Linked DNA regions of Homo sapiens: regions 2, 3 and 4 are each linked to region 1. The links are contacts of gene promoters, found by promoter capture Hi-C in blood cells and fetal thymus (Javierre and others, 2016). All regions are on one chromosome and are shown on one strand. Each heading gives the region's core, a stretch centred on a gene start or on the middle of the fragment in contact. The rest is flanking DNA. Distances are from core to core; before and after follow the strand shown.

Region 1 (2,880 bases), core at 188-2,687:
AAAGAGCGCAGTGGGAATATTTTGGTTTTGAAGCCCCTTGCACAGGGAACCTGTTCTGACACATTCTTGTGGTGTCCAGTAAAGGAATTTCACCTGAGTAGGGATCAGCTCCAGTGCTAATATTTCAGATGCTGGGAATCCCCTGCAGGCCTTAGCCAAAAGAGTTCTTAAATGAAAAGTCTCTGCCTGAGCTCCCTCCCTGCAACCAGCCCTTGAACGGAAAAGCAGAGAAAATTCTCAAAGGACAGCGTCTGTGCCTGGGCTGGTCCTCCTGGGAGAGGAGAGGAATAAAACCAATCCAGAGAGGGCACCCCCATCTTTGTAAAGGAGAAGGGAGAAGTAATTAGAATGCCACGGAGGTGGGAAGAGAAAAAAAAAGAAAAGAAAATTCGGGCCCTTTCCATCGGGCCCTTTCCAGCAAGAAGATGACGAGGAAAGGAAGAACGCCTGGTCGAGGGGGGCTGTCCCAACATGGGGAGGGAGTGGACTAGGCCGGAGGGAGAGGGGGTGGAACGACGGCGCAAAAACAAGCTGGAAAGGGAGGAAAATGGTGACCCTGCACTCAGAACCGGCTCCAGGCCACGCCGCCCGCTTGGGGGCAACTTTGCTGGGGAGGAGGGTCCCGGTAAGAGAAGACGCGGCGCCCCGATCGCGGTGGCCCCAGCGCGGGGCCCAGTCTGGGGCCATCCCCGAGCCCGGGAGGCCGGGGCCGGCGGCTCGCGGAGCCTGGCGGGGCCGGACGGGCTGAGAGCGGCTAGAAGCGACCGGTGCCGCAGAGCCCCGGGGGCCGACGGAATCTGGGCCCCGAGCGGCCGGCGGCTCCGCGGGGGAGGGGCCGCCACTGCTCCGCCCGCCCCCTCCACCGTCACCCCGATCCCTTCGGCCTCTGCCCGCTCCGGCCAAAGAAGCCATGGGGGTCGCGGCTCAGCCGCCCCCGGCGGGACGGGGACCCCTCGCCTCCCCTGGCCCTGTCTCCCTGTCTCCCTGTCTCCCCGCCCCCACGCCCCACCCCCCACAGCCTGACTCACCTCGCGAGTAGAGGGACTTGGGCGATTCCAGGTCTAGGTCCGCGCTGAGCAATGAGATGAAGTCCGAGGGCATCGCAGCTCGACCCAGCCCGGCCCGAGGGCAGCGGGAGGGGGGGAGCGGCGGTGGCGGCGGCACCTCCTCTCCGGGACCGCGGGCACCGAACCGGGGGCGGCGACGCGAGGGCGGCTGCCGCTGCCTCCTCCTCGAGGGTAGTGACTTCCACTGGGCCGAGGACCGAGGAAACGATGGCGAGGTGGAGGGGGAACTCCACGGGGACTGATTCTCGGTGACCAGGAGAGGGGTTCAGGACGGGGAAGGGGAAGGGGGAGAGCCAAAGGGTCCGTTTCGTGTTTCTCCTCAGCGAAAACTGACGGTCGCCGCCACCGCCGCCGCCGCTGACAGGAATCTGAGCCCCGCCCCCGTGGGGCACAGCGCAGGCGCGGAGGGGGGTGCCCGGGAGCGCGGAAGAGCCGTGGCGGCCCCCGGAGGGCGGGGAGGCGCGCCAGGGAACAGCAGCAACATGGGCCTCGCTTCCTGCCGGCGCGGCCCGGGCTGCTGCTGTTCCTGAGCCGGGAAAGGGCCCCGCTGCCAGGGTGGGAGGGGGGGAGGCTGGGAGGTGGCCGCGCGCTGGGGCCCCGGGGAGGGAAAAGGTATTTGCAACGACCTGGTGGCGGCGAGCCTGAGGCGGCCGGCCCCGAGCAGAGCTGAGCGCAGGAGACAGAGCCGAGAGAAGCGAGAGGTCTGCGCGAGCCGGGGACGGACCCCAGAGGCCGGCGGCGGACGGGCCTGGCTGGCCCGGGGTCTCGCAGGGGACCGGAGTGTCATCGCCCGGACAGCCGCCAACCCTTTGGGGTTTGCATAGCAGTGTGTACAAAGGGACTGTCAAACCCATTTCTTAATTAGGAAATGGCAAACCGTATCCCAAAAACCTCGAGTTATTGATTTTTAATTAAAGTACTTTCTCCCCTAACACTCCCCTCCTACCTTTGGAGGCTGAAATTTTTTTTAAAAAAAACGATCTCTCTGATTGTGCTGGGGCATCCGGGTTATTCGGAGTGGGACATAGAAGACAATTAAAAAATTGGATCATGTGAATCCACCTGGCTGTTCTAGAGGAAAAACAGGTAAAAAGCAAACCTCAACGCTACTCTTCCAAACAGTTTTTCTTTTTTCTGTTTCTTTTTTTTTCCTTTTGGACTAGGCAAAGATGGAGGAAGAACGCATTTAACTGAGTTTTTGCTCTTGCTTTTCTGTTCGTGGAGCCAAAAGTTTCCGTTGCAAAAATTTAAAATCCTCACCCACACCGCAGAGCGTTTTCTGATTCTAATAGACTTCTGAGAAATTTTTAATCAAGTTATTGAAATATTACCTGGAGTGCAGGGTGTGCATCTTGGGAAGTAATTTTAATCTTGTGTGGAATATTGATGCCAGTAGCCACGTGGGCATGGTTTTTAAGCTATTCGAATGGTTTCGTTTTTTATCTACAAGGATAGTTACAACTCATGAAAATCAGTCTGTTGTAATATGTGTATGTGTATATATATGCACACATATATATACATACATATATACACACATATATACATATATATATAATTATAGAGACTTTTTCCCATGAAATTGAGCAGTTCTCGGGACTTGGAGTGCTAGGGTTGGGGTAAGAAGCTCTCAGCAAAGGAGGGCCCAGTACAGATGTCGCTGAGGCAAGGCCCTTTACAAAGTTTTACCTGTAGACCTAGAATTTAAACGTGTGTCATCAGAGCTCACCTATCTTTCATCTCAACATTTGATTCAGGTTGCCCAGTTGTCTTCACTGAATTGTGTGTAGTAATCAATCCTGTGAACATTTTT
Region 2 (2,880 bases), core at 261-2,760, 200 kb before region 1:
ACTTGTTATTTTTTATTTATTTAATTATTTTTGAGAAGGAGTTTCGCTCTTGTTGCCCAGGCTAGAGGGCAGTGATGCAATCTCGGCTCACTGCAACCTCCGCCTCCTGGGTTCAAGCGATTCTCCTGCCTCAGGCTCCCAAGTAGCTGGGATTACAGGTGTCTGCCACCACGCCTAGCTAATTTTTTGTATTTTTAGTAGAGACGGGGTTTCTCCATGTTGGCCAGGCTGGTCTTAAACTCCTGACTTCAGGTGATCTACCCACCTCGGCCTCCTAAAGTGCTGGGATTATAGGTGTGAGCCACCATGCCTGGCTGGTATTTTCCTAATAGTTATTATTAGTAGTAATGATTTAAATCACTGAATATTTGCTATAAACTGCGGTGGGGTGAAAAACAGGGAACTGCAACCTTCTAAAAAGATTTTGGTTAGAATCTAACCTGTCCCATCATCCAGGGGAAACATCTTCCCTTTTGTTCCCATCTTTCAGAAATTCCAGAGCCCTAGCCAGTTGTGGTGGCTCACACCTGTAACCCCAAACACTTTGGGAGGCTGAGGCAGGAGGATCACTTGAGCCCGGAGTTCAAGACCAGTCTGAGTAACATAGTGGGACCCCATCTCTACAAAAAAGTTAAAAATTAGCTAGGCATGGTGGCACATGCCTATAGTCTCAGCTACTTGGAAGGCTAAGATGGGAGGATCACTTGAGCTCAAAAGGTTGAGGCTGCAGTGAGCCATGATCATGCCACTGTACTTCAGCCTGGGTGACAGAATGAGACCTTGTCTCAAAAGCAAAACAAATAAAGAAGAAAGAAAAGAAATTTCAGAGTCCATAATGTGGAGTCCTAATAAGATAAGTAAGCAACAACGAGGAAGGGGCCTCAGGTAGGGGAAAGCCATGGACAGTCGTTCTGAGAAATGATTAATCACAAACAGCCCTCAGATGCATCAATCCCCACATAGCCCCCTCCAGCACAACCCTGTAAAACTTCCCTCCATCTCCTGCCTCTTTGCAGACAGCCCCTTCTCTGCTGTGCTGCCCATTGCTTTCTTGCAACGTGTTTTCACTTTAATAAATCTGCCTTTCTTTACCTGGTAAATTCCCTTTCTGCCTGTGACACATAATAGTCCTAAGGGACTCAAAGTCGCTCAAAAGCAACTCACTGATTTGATTCCAAAGGGAGTTTATGTTTATATAGCCACTCCACCCATCTCACTAATGATAAGTGGTAGAAGGACCAGATGTGGACTCTGAAGACCAAGATTCAAATGGCCATCTCTTTCATTTCTTAGCTATCTGACCTCGTGAGGGTCACTTCACCTCAACAAGGTTAAATGTATAAAATGGTGGGATGCCTGACAAACAACATGCATTCAATACATGTTTGAAAAAACCAATACATATTTCAAACATAAAAAGCCCATTATCCATCCATCCTGGAGGCCTAAACTGGATGCCAACCCAGGAAGCCAGACTAATTCCAGAAATTGGCACTCAAATTGATTTCAGGGGTGCTATAAAGATGCACAGTTGGAAGAGTAGCCTCATTAAGAAAAAAGAAACCCATTAGCTTGTGGTTTTCAAAAAGATTAAAAAAAAAAAAAACAAAACCCCTATTCCAGTACTTTGGGAGGCCGAGGCAGGCAGATCACTTGAGGTCAGGATTTTGAGGCTAGCCTGACCAACCTGGTGAAACCCCATCTCTACTAAAAATACAAAAATTAGTTGGACATAGTGGCAGATGCCTGTAATCCCAGCTACTCAGGAGGCTGAGGCAGGAGAGTCACTTGAACCTGGGAGGTGAAGGTTGCAGTGAGCCAAGATCGTACCATTGCACTCCAGCCTGGGCAACAGAACAACACTCCAAAAATAATAAAGTAAAATATAGGATCCCTAGAAAAGCCTCTCTCTGAAGGTGATGGTTGAGTAAAGATCTGAGGAAGTGAGGGAAGGAAGGGGCCATGTGGCTGAATAGGGGCTTAAGGGTCCAGGCAGAGTTCAAAAGCCCCAAATAAGGAGTACCACTGGCAGGTTTTGGGACCAGTCAGGAGGCCAGTGTGGCTGGAGGGGATTGAGTAAGCAGGAGTGGAGAGAGGAGGTCAGGGTGGTGGTGGGTGTGGGAGGAGAGATCAGGTCATGGAAGGCTTGCAGGCCATTGTAGGGTATTGGTTTTCACTCCAGTTAAGCTGGGACAATTGGAGGGTTTGAGTTGGGCAGTGGAGTGGACAGGATCCACCCTGCCTTTTAACAGACTTGCCCTGGGTCCTGTGTGGAGAAAGTGAAGGCCAGCCAGGGTGGAAGAGGGAGACAAGTTAGGAGGCTGTTGCCATCATCCAGGGGAAAGATGCATCCAGGGTGTACTCTGAAGTACAGCCAGTAGGCTTTGTGGACGAGCTGAGTTGGATGTGGGGTGTGAGAGGAAGAGACGAGTCAAGGGTGACTCCAAGGTCTTTGGCTTGAACAACTGGAGGAATGGAGTTGTCATTAACTGAGATGGGGAAGGCTGTCTGAGGGGCAGGTGTAGGGCTCAATTTTGTTGATGTTGATTATAAAATGCCTGATAGGAATCCACGTGAAGATATTGTGGGCAATTAGATCTAGAAGTCTCGAGACAGGCCTAGGCTAGACACACATATGGAAGCTGTTAGCATGTGGATAGTATTTAGAGTTAAGAGACTGAGCCAGGTGCAATGGTTCATGCCTGTAATCTCAGCACTTTCGGAGGCTGAGGCAGGAGGATGTCTTGAGGCCAAGTGTTCAAGACCAGCCTGGGCAAAAGTGAGAACCCCCGCCCCCAACTCCCCATCTCTCCAAAAGCAAGACGGAGTCTCACTTCATCACCTAGGCTGGAGTGCAGTGGCGCGATCTTGGTTCACTGC
Region 3 (2,880 bases), core at 162-2,661, 180 kb before region 1:
TCCTCCTACCTCAGCCTCCCGAGTAGCTGGGACTGTAGGTGTACACCACCATGCCTGGCTAATTTTAAAATTTTTTTATAGAGACAGGGTGTCACTTTTGTCCAGGCTGGTCTCAAAATCCTGGCCCAAAACAATCCTCCTACCTCAGCCTTCCTAAGGGCTGGGAGTTAGTGAGCCACTGCACCCAGCTATTTTTTTATTTTTATTCTCTGATTTTTTTAAAACACTGGATGTCAGCCAGGCTCGGTGGCTCCTGTGTGTAATCCCAGCGCTTTGGGAGGCTGAGATGGGCAGATCACTTGAGGCTGGGAGTTTGAGACCAGCCTGGCCAACATGGCGAAACCCCATCTCTACTAAAAAATACAAAAATCAGTGGGGCATGGTGGCGCACACCTGTAATCCCAGCTACTTGGGAGGCTGAAGCATGAGAATCGCTTGAACCTGGGAGTCGGAGGTTAGGTTGCAGTGAGCCAAGGTTGTGCCACTCCCCTCCGGCCTGGGTGACAGAGCAAGACCCTATCTCAAAAAAAAAAAAAAAATTGGGTATCCTTTTTTTTTTTTGAGACAGAGTCTCATTTTTGTTCCCCAGGCTGGAGTGCAGTGGCGTGATCTCAGCCCACTGCAACCTCCGCCTCCCGGTTTCAAGGAATTCTCCTGCTTCAGCCTCCTGAGTAGCTGGGATTACAGGTGCCTGCCACCACGCCAGGCTAATTTTTGTATTTTTAGTAGAGACAGGGTTTCGCCACGTTGGCCAGGCTGGTCTCCAATTCCTGACCTTGGGTGATCCGCCCACCTCGGCCTCCTAAAGTGCTGGGATTACAGGCATGAGCCATCGTGCCCGGCCAAAAAAAAAAACTGGATATCTTTAATTTTGATAACAAGAGGTATATGTTTTTTGTTTTTTTAAAGGTTAAGGTGAGCTCATCGATTCAGCACCCAGAAACACCTCTGCACATTTCTGGTTTCCATCTGCCCTACAAGGTAATTTCTTAGACAAGCCAGGCCGTTCATGCTCTTTTCTGAAACATGTCACATCTCTCTAAGTCATCTCTTCACAGTGAACTAAATTTACGCGGACCAATAACATAGTTTGTCCAGCCCTGTCTGATCTGACTTGTATATCATATGTGATTTCATCTGTGACCTGAGAGGTGGCTACAGATGAATTTTCAGGTTTTAAAATTGTTTCTTTTAATTTCAGCCTAAACCCCCACAAGAAACAGAAAAAGGACACTCAGCTTGTGAGCCTGAGAACCTGGAATTTAGTTCCTTCATGTTCTGGAGAAACCCTTTGCCCAACATCGATCATGAACTGCAGGAGCTGCTGGTGAGGCCTTGACTTTTGGTCTTCTGACGACAGCTCAACTTCTCCTCCACTGCTCCTGTGGGTTGGGAGTTTGAAAGGTCTGTTGATGTTTCAGATTGACAGAGGTGAGGACGTTCCAAGTGAGGAGGAGGAGGAGGAAGAAAACGGGTTTGAAGACAGAAAAGATGACAGCGATGACGACGGGGGTGGCTGGATAACCCCCAGTAACATCAAGCAGATCCAGCAGGAGCTGGAGCAGTGTGACGTCCCCGAGGACGTGCGGGTTGGCTGCCTGACCACAGACTTCGCCATGCAGGTGGGTAGGGTGGGCCTGGGCCGTGTGTCACACACGTCATCGGCAGTGGTCCTACCGAGGTGTACAGATGTACACGGAACTGGTGCTGTGCAGCGCTTCTTTTCCTGGTTCTGGAAACCACCTGTGCCATTTGGTGATTTTTAATTTTGCTTAGAGGCTAGACAATCGTCATATAATGACAACATTTGTATAGTACATTAAATGTTTAACGTTTACTATTTATGATTTTTTTATGATTTTTTTTTCAGTATATATAATGCCATGTGGTCAGTCAGGTTCTTAACACAGGGAGAGAGGGTTTTCAGCCCAGCAATGAGTATATTTGGCCCAGACAAAATAAAATGTCTGTTGAGAGAGCTTGCTAATGACAGGTCATGGAAAATGACGAACACAGGCTCCAGGACGGTGTTAGAAAGACACCTGGGCCTTCGTCCTCGTTTACACATCTTGAGAGGCCTCCCCAGGCTGAGTTTCCTTCGCAAAAGCCAAGGAATATGGGCAAGGCAGGGTTTGTGAAGTTCCCTTAACTGTAATTACAAAATGAAATGTGAAAAGAAAATTGATTTCTTCTTTAACTTGTGGTTGTAGAATGTTCTGCTGCAGATGGGGCTGCACGTGCTGGCGGTGAACGGCATGCTGATTCGTGAGGCCCGGAGCTACATCTTGCGCTGCCATGGCTGTTTCAAGTATGTAGCTGGTGCCCTGGCCCTGGTGCCCTCTGTGGAACACTCTTCCTGTTTCTTTTTTTGTTTTGAGAAACAGTCTCGCTCTGTCACCTAGGCTGGAGTGCAGTGGTACAATCTCAGCTCACTGCAACCTCTGCCTCCTGGGTTCAAGCAATTCTCCTGCCTCAACCTCCCAAGTAGCTGGAACTAGAGGCACATACCACTGCACCCGACTAATTTAATTTCTGTATGTTTTTAGTAGAGGCGGGGTTTCACCATGTTGGTCAGGCTGGTCTCGAACTCCTGACTCCAAGTGATCCATCCACCTCAGCCTCCCAAAGAGCTGGGGTTACAGGTGTGAGCCACCACGCCTGGCCACTATTCCTGTTTCTTCTACAGACTTGTTTAAAGAGAACCCTACATTATGTGTGTTTCTTCCACCTCATCATTCCTCTGGGGCCTGGGTTCCGTCTCCACCTGGGCACTGAGAACTTGGGGACAGAGGTTGCCAGTGACCTCCCACCGTATCTCAGTGGCATGGGGTTAGGGACATGGGTTCTGGAACAGTGAGCCTCATTCTTTAGCGGTACATA
Region 4 (2,880 bases), core at 177-2,676, 170 kb after region 1:
TGACTCCTTTTGACCACTAGTCAGGCAAAAAAAAAAAAAAAAAATTTGGCTTTGAATAACAAATTTATAATTATTCATCTTATTTCACAGTAAGCTACCCCTTTAAAAGTCTACCATTATTTTTTTTGTATTTTTATTAGCATTTAATTACTAGTGAATATATGGTAATACATTCTTCCCTTTTGAAAAAAATTAGAGCATTGCAGACAAAGTTTTGGTTCTCTTTAATCACTCCCCACAACGCCAGTTCCTTTCTCCCTTCCTCTAAAAAAATCACTTCTAGGAGTTTTGAGGCTATCCTCACTGACTTTTCAGTATACTTTTGCATACATATAAATGTACTCATAGAAAATAAACATGTAGTATTTTTACATGCATGTTTTTAAGAAAACAAATTATATTCTATATATTATTCTGCAGTTTGATTCTTTTCACTCAATAATATAATATTGAACACTTTATACGATTATTATAGATAGTCATTCTTTTTTTTTTTTTTTTTTTTTTGAGACAGGGTCTCCCTCTGTCACTCAGGCTGGAGTGCAGTGGCATGGTGTTGGCTCACTGCAACCTCCACCTCCAGGGCACAAGTGACCCTCCTGCCTCAGCCTCCCAAGCAGCTGGTACCACAGTCACATGCCACCATGCCCTGCTAATTTTTGTATTTTTTGCAGAGACAGGGTTTTGTCATGTTCCTCAAACTGGTCTCAAACTCCTGGGCTCAAGCAATCTGCCTGCCTTGGCCTCCCAAAGTGGTGAGGTTATAGGTGTGAGCCACTGTGCCCGGCCCTTTTTAACTTTTATACAATATTCCATTGTGCTTGGCTATTTCTCTTTTGATAGGCATTTAGATTAATTCCAACCTTTGTCTACTATAGACAATGCTTCAGTAAACTTTTTTTTAATTATACTTTAAGTTTTAGGGTACATGTGCACAACGTGCAGGTTTGTTACATATGTATACATGTGCCATGTTGGTGTGCTGCACCCATTAAGTCGTCATTTAACATTAGGTATATCTCCTAATGCTATCCCCCTCCCCCCACCCCACAACAGGTCCTGGTGTGTAATGTTCCCCTTCCTGTGTCCACGTGTTCTCATTGTTCAATTCCCACCTATGAGTGAGAACATGCGGTGTTTGGTTTTTCAGTAAACATTCTTGTACAGTTCTCATTATACACACATACAAGTACCTTATAGTCAATAAACATTCGGTCGTGCAAATAAAAAGTCAATATGCAATCTTAGAATGAGGTTTAGGTACAATGAAACTCTAAATTTACCGTTTAAAAATTGTCATCATCGTGGGCATTTTGCACCTCTGTAGATTATTATGGTGTGGCCCTGAGACTGGGGCTTGTGGAAGAACTGACTGAAGATGTTTCCTTGGCCAGGGAGAGAGAGAGAGAGCTGTAAAACACCCTTGTGAAAGGTAGGGCTGGGATACTCAAGACTGTGCTATCTAACACAGTAGCCACTAGCCACAAGTGGCTATTTAATTTTAAACTTAAGTGTGTTAAAGTTAAATCAAATTAAAAATTCAGTTCCTCAGTTATAGAAGCCACATTTTAAGTGCTCAAAAGCCACATATAATCAGTGGCTACCATATTGAGTGCGAATACAGAACATGTCCATCATTAAAGAAAGTTCTGGCCAGGCGCAGTGGCTTACGCCTGTAACCCCAACACTTTGGGAGGCTGAGACAGGTGGATCACCTGAGGTCAGGAGTTCAAGACCAGCCTGGCCAACATGGTGAAACCCTGTCACTACTAAAAATACAAAAATCAGCCGAGCGTGTTGGCAGGCACCTGTAATCCCAGCTACTCAGGAGGCTGAGGCTGGAGAATCGCTTGAACCTGGGTGGTGGAGGTTGCAGTGAGCCGATATTGTGAATTCAAGTCAGGCTCAGTAGCTCACGTCTGTAACCCCAGAACTTTGGGAGGCCATTTGGAAGATTGAGGCAGGAAGATCACTTGAGCCCAGGAGTTCAAGTCTGCATTGAGCTATGATGGCACCACTGCACTCCAGCTTGGGTGACAGAGTGAGACTGTCTCAAAAAGAAAAAGAAAAAGCAAGTTCTGTGGGACAGTACTACTCCAGAAGTTATTTTATATAGTCCTATCTAGTAGCCAATTTAAAATTTCCTTTCCTGAAATGTAATTACTTCCATTATTACTAAACCTTTGATGAAGTATTTTAAATAATAGTAAGAGCTAACATTTATTGAATGTATGTATTGGTTAGTTTTCTTTGTTGCAGAAAACAGATTTCACTCTTGCTAATTTAAACATAAAAGGATTTATTAAGGGGTATGGATAGCTCATGGACTCATTAGGGAAGTTGAAGAAATAGACACTAGGATAAATATCCAGGAATGACTTTCAAAATTACACTGTGGTTGGGCACAGTGGCTCATGCTTGTAAACCTAGCACTTTGGGGGGCCAAAGCAGGAAGAGCGTTTGAAGCCACTAGTTTGAGGCTGCAGTGAGCTACGATTGCACCACTGCACTCCAGCCTGGGTGACAGAATGAGACCCTGACTCAAAAAAGAAAAGAAAAGAATTGCTAAGCAGCCACCACAGCTGTTGGCTCCAGAATAGCATTGCCTCTGCCCTGACCAGTGCCAGCAAAATGGATGCTTCCTGCTCTGTCTCCCCCTCCACGTGACTCATAGTTATCAAGTCTCACACAGTACAATCCAAATCATAAACAGAACCAGAGCTGCAAGGGTGTTTGAGAAATGTCATATTTAGCTTTCCATCCTCTACAGTCCAGGAAGCAAATCTAGAAAGGGGTTGGGATGGGTTTTGAGTGACCCAGTCCAAAGCATCTGCCACAACTTGCCAGGTGCCAAGTCTTGGAAACATGCCTGATCTCATT

What was found. The method cuts DNA at HindIII sites, captures the fragments that hold promoters and counts their contacts. A CHiCAGO score of 5 or more calls a contact.
Region 2: a contact is called between a fragment that was not itself captured here and the fragment with the promoter of NFAT5 in region 1, in 1 of 17 cell types (neutrophils). The highest score is 5.1, in neutrophils.
Region 3: a contact is called between a fragment that was not itself captured here and the fragment with the promoter of NFAT5 in region 1, in 1 of 17 cell types (neutrophils). The highest score is 5.2, in neutrophils.
Region 4: a contact is called between a fragment that was not itself captured here and the fragment with the promoter of NFAT5 in region 1, in 17 of 17 cell types (megakaryocytes, total B cells, naive B cells and 14 more). The highest score is 26.3, in megakaryocytes.

What each region holds. Positions count from the first base shown.
Region 1 is chr16:69,564,523-69,567,402 of GRCh38, reverse strand. NFAT5 (nuclear factor of activated T cells 5) reads right to left here and starts at 1,437. Exons shown (of 15, transcript NM_138713.4): 1 at 1,029-1,437. The coding sequence starts at 1,101. MIR1538 (microRNA 1538) reads left to right here and starts at 1,535; the gene lies at 1,535-1,595. RefSeq lists silencers at 642-951, 972-1,241, 1,536-1,712, 1,432-1,811 and an enhancer at 2,473-2,880. The HindIII fragment of the contact is 15,576 bases long and covers 1-2,880 here.
Region 2 is chr16:69,765,763-69,768,642 of GRCh38, reverse strand. All of the region lies in intron 1 of WWP2 (WW domain containing E3 ubiquitin protein ligase 2), which reads right to left. Among named protein-coding and RNA genes, the nearest start is that of WWP2, 4.9 kb to the right of the region's middle. The HindIII fragment of the contact is 6,474 bases long and covers 1-2,880 here.
Region 3 is chr16:69,747,660-69,750,539 of GRCh38, reverse strand. NOB1 (NIN1 (RPN12) binding protein 1 homolog) reads left to right here. Exons shown (of 9, transcript NM_014062.3): 4 at 910-981; 5 at 1,202-1,327; 6 at 1,422-1,622; 7 at 2,211-2,308. Among named protein-coding and RNA genes, the nearest start is that of NOB1, 5.8 kb to the left of the region's middle. The HindIII fragment of the contact is 6,163 bases long and covers 1-2,880 here.
Region 4 is chr16:69,399,324-69,402,203 of GRCh38, reverse strand. No RefSeq gene overlaps it. Among named protein-coding and RNA genes, the nearest start is that of TERF2, 15 kb to the right of the region's middle. The HindIII fragment of the contact is 7,123 bases long and covers 1-2,880 here.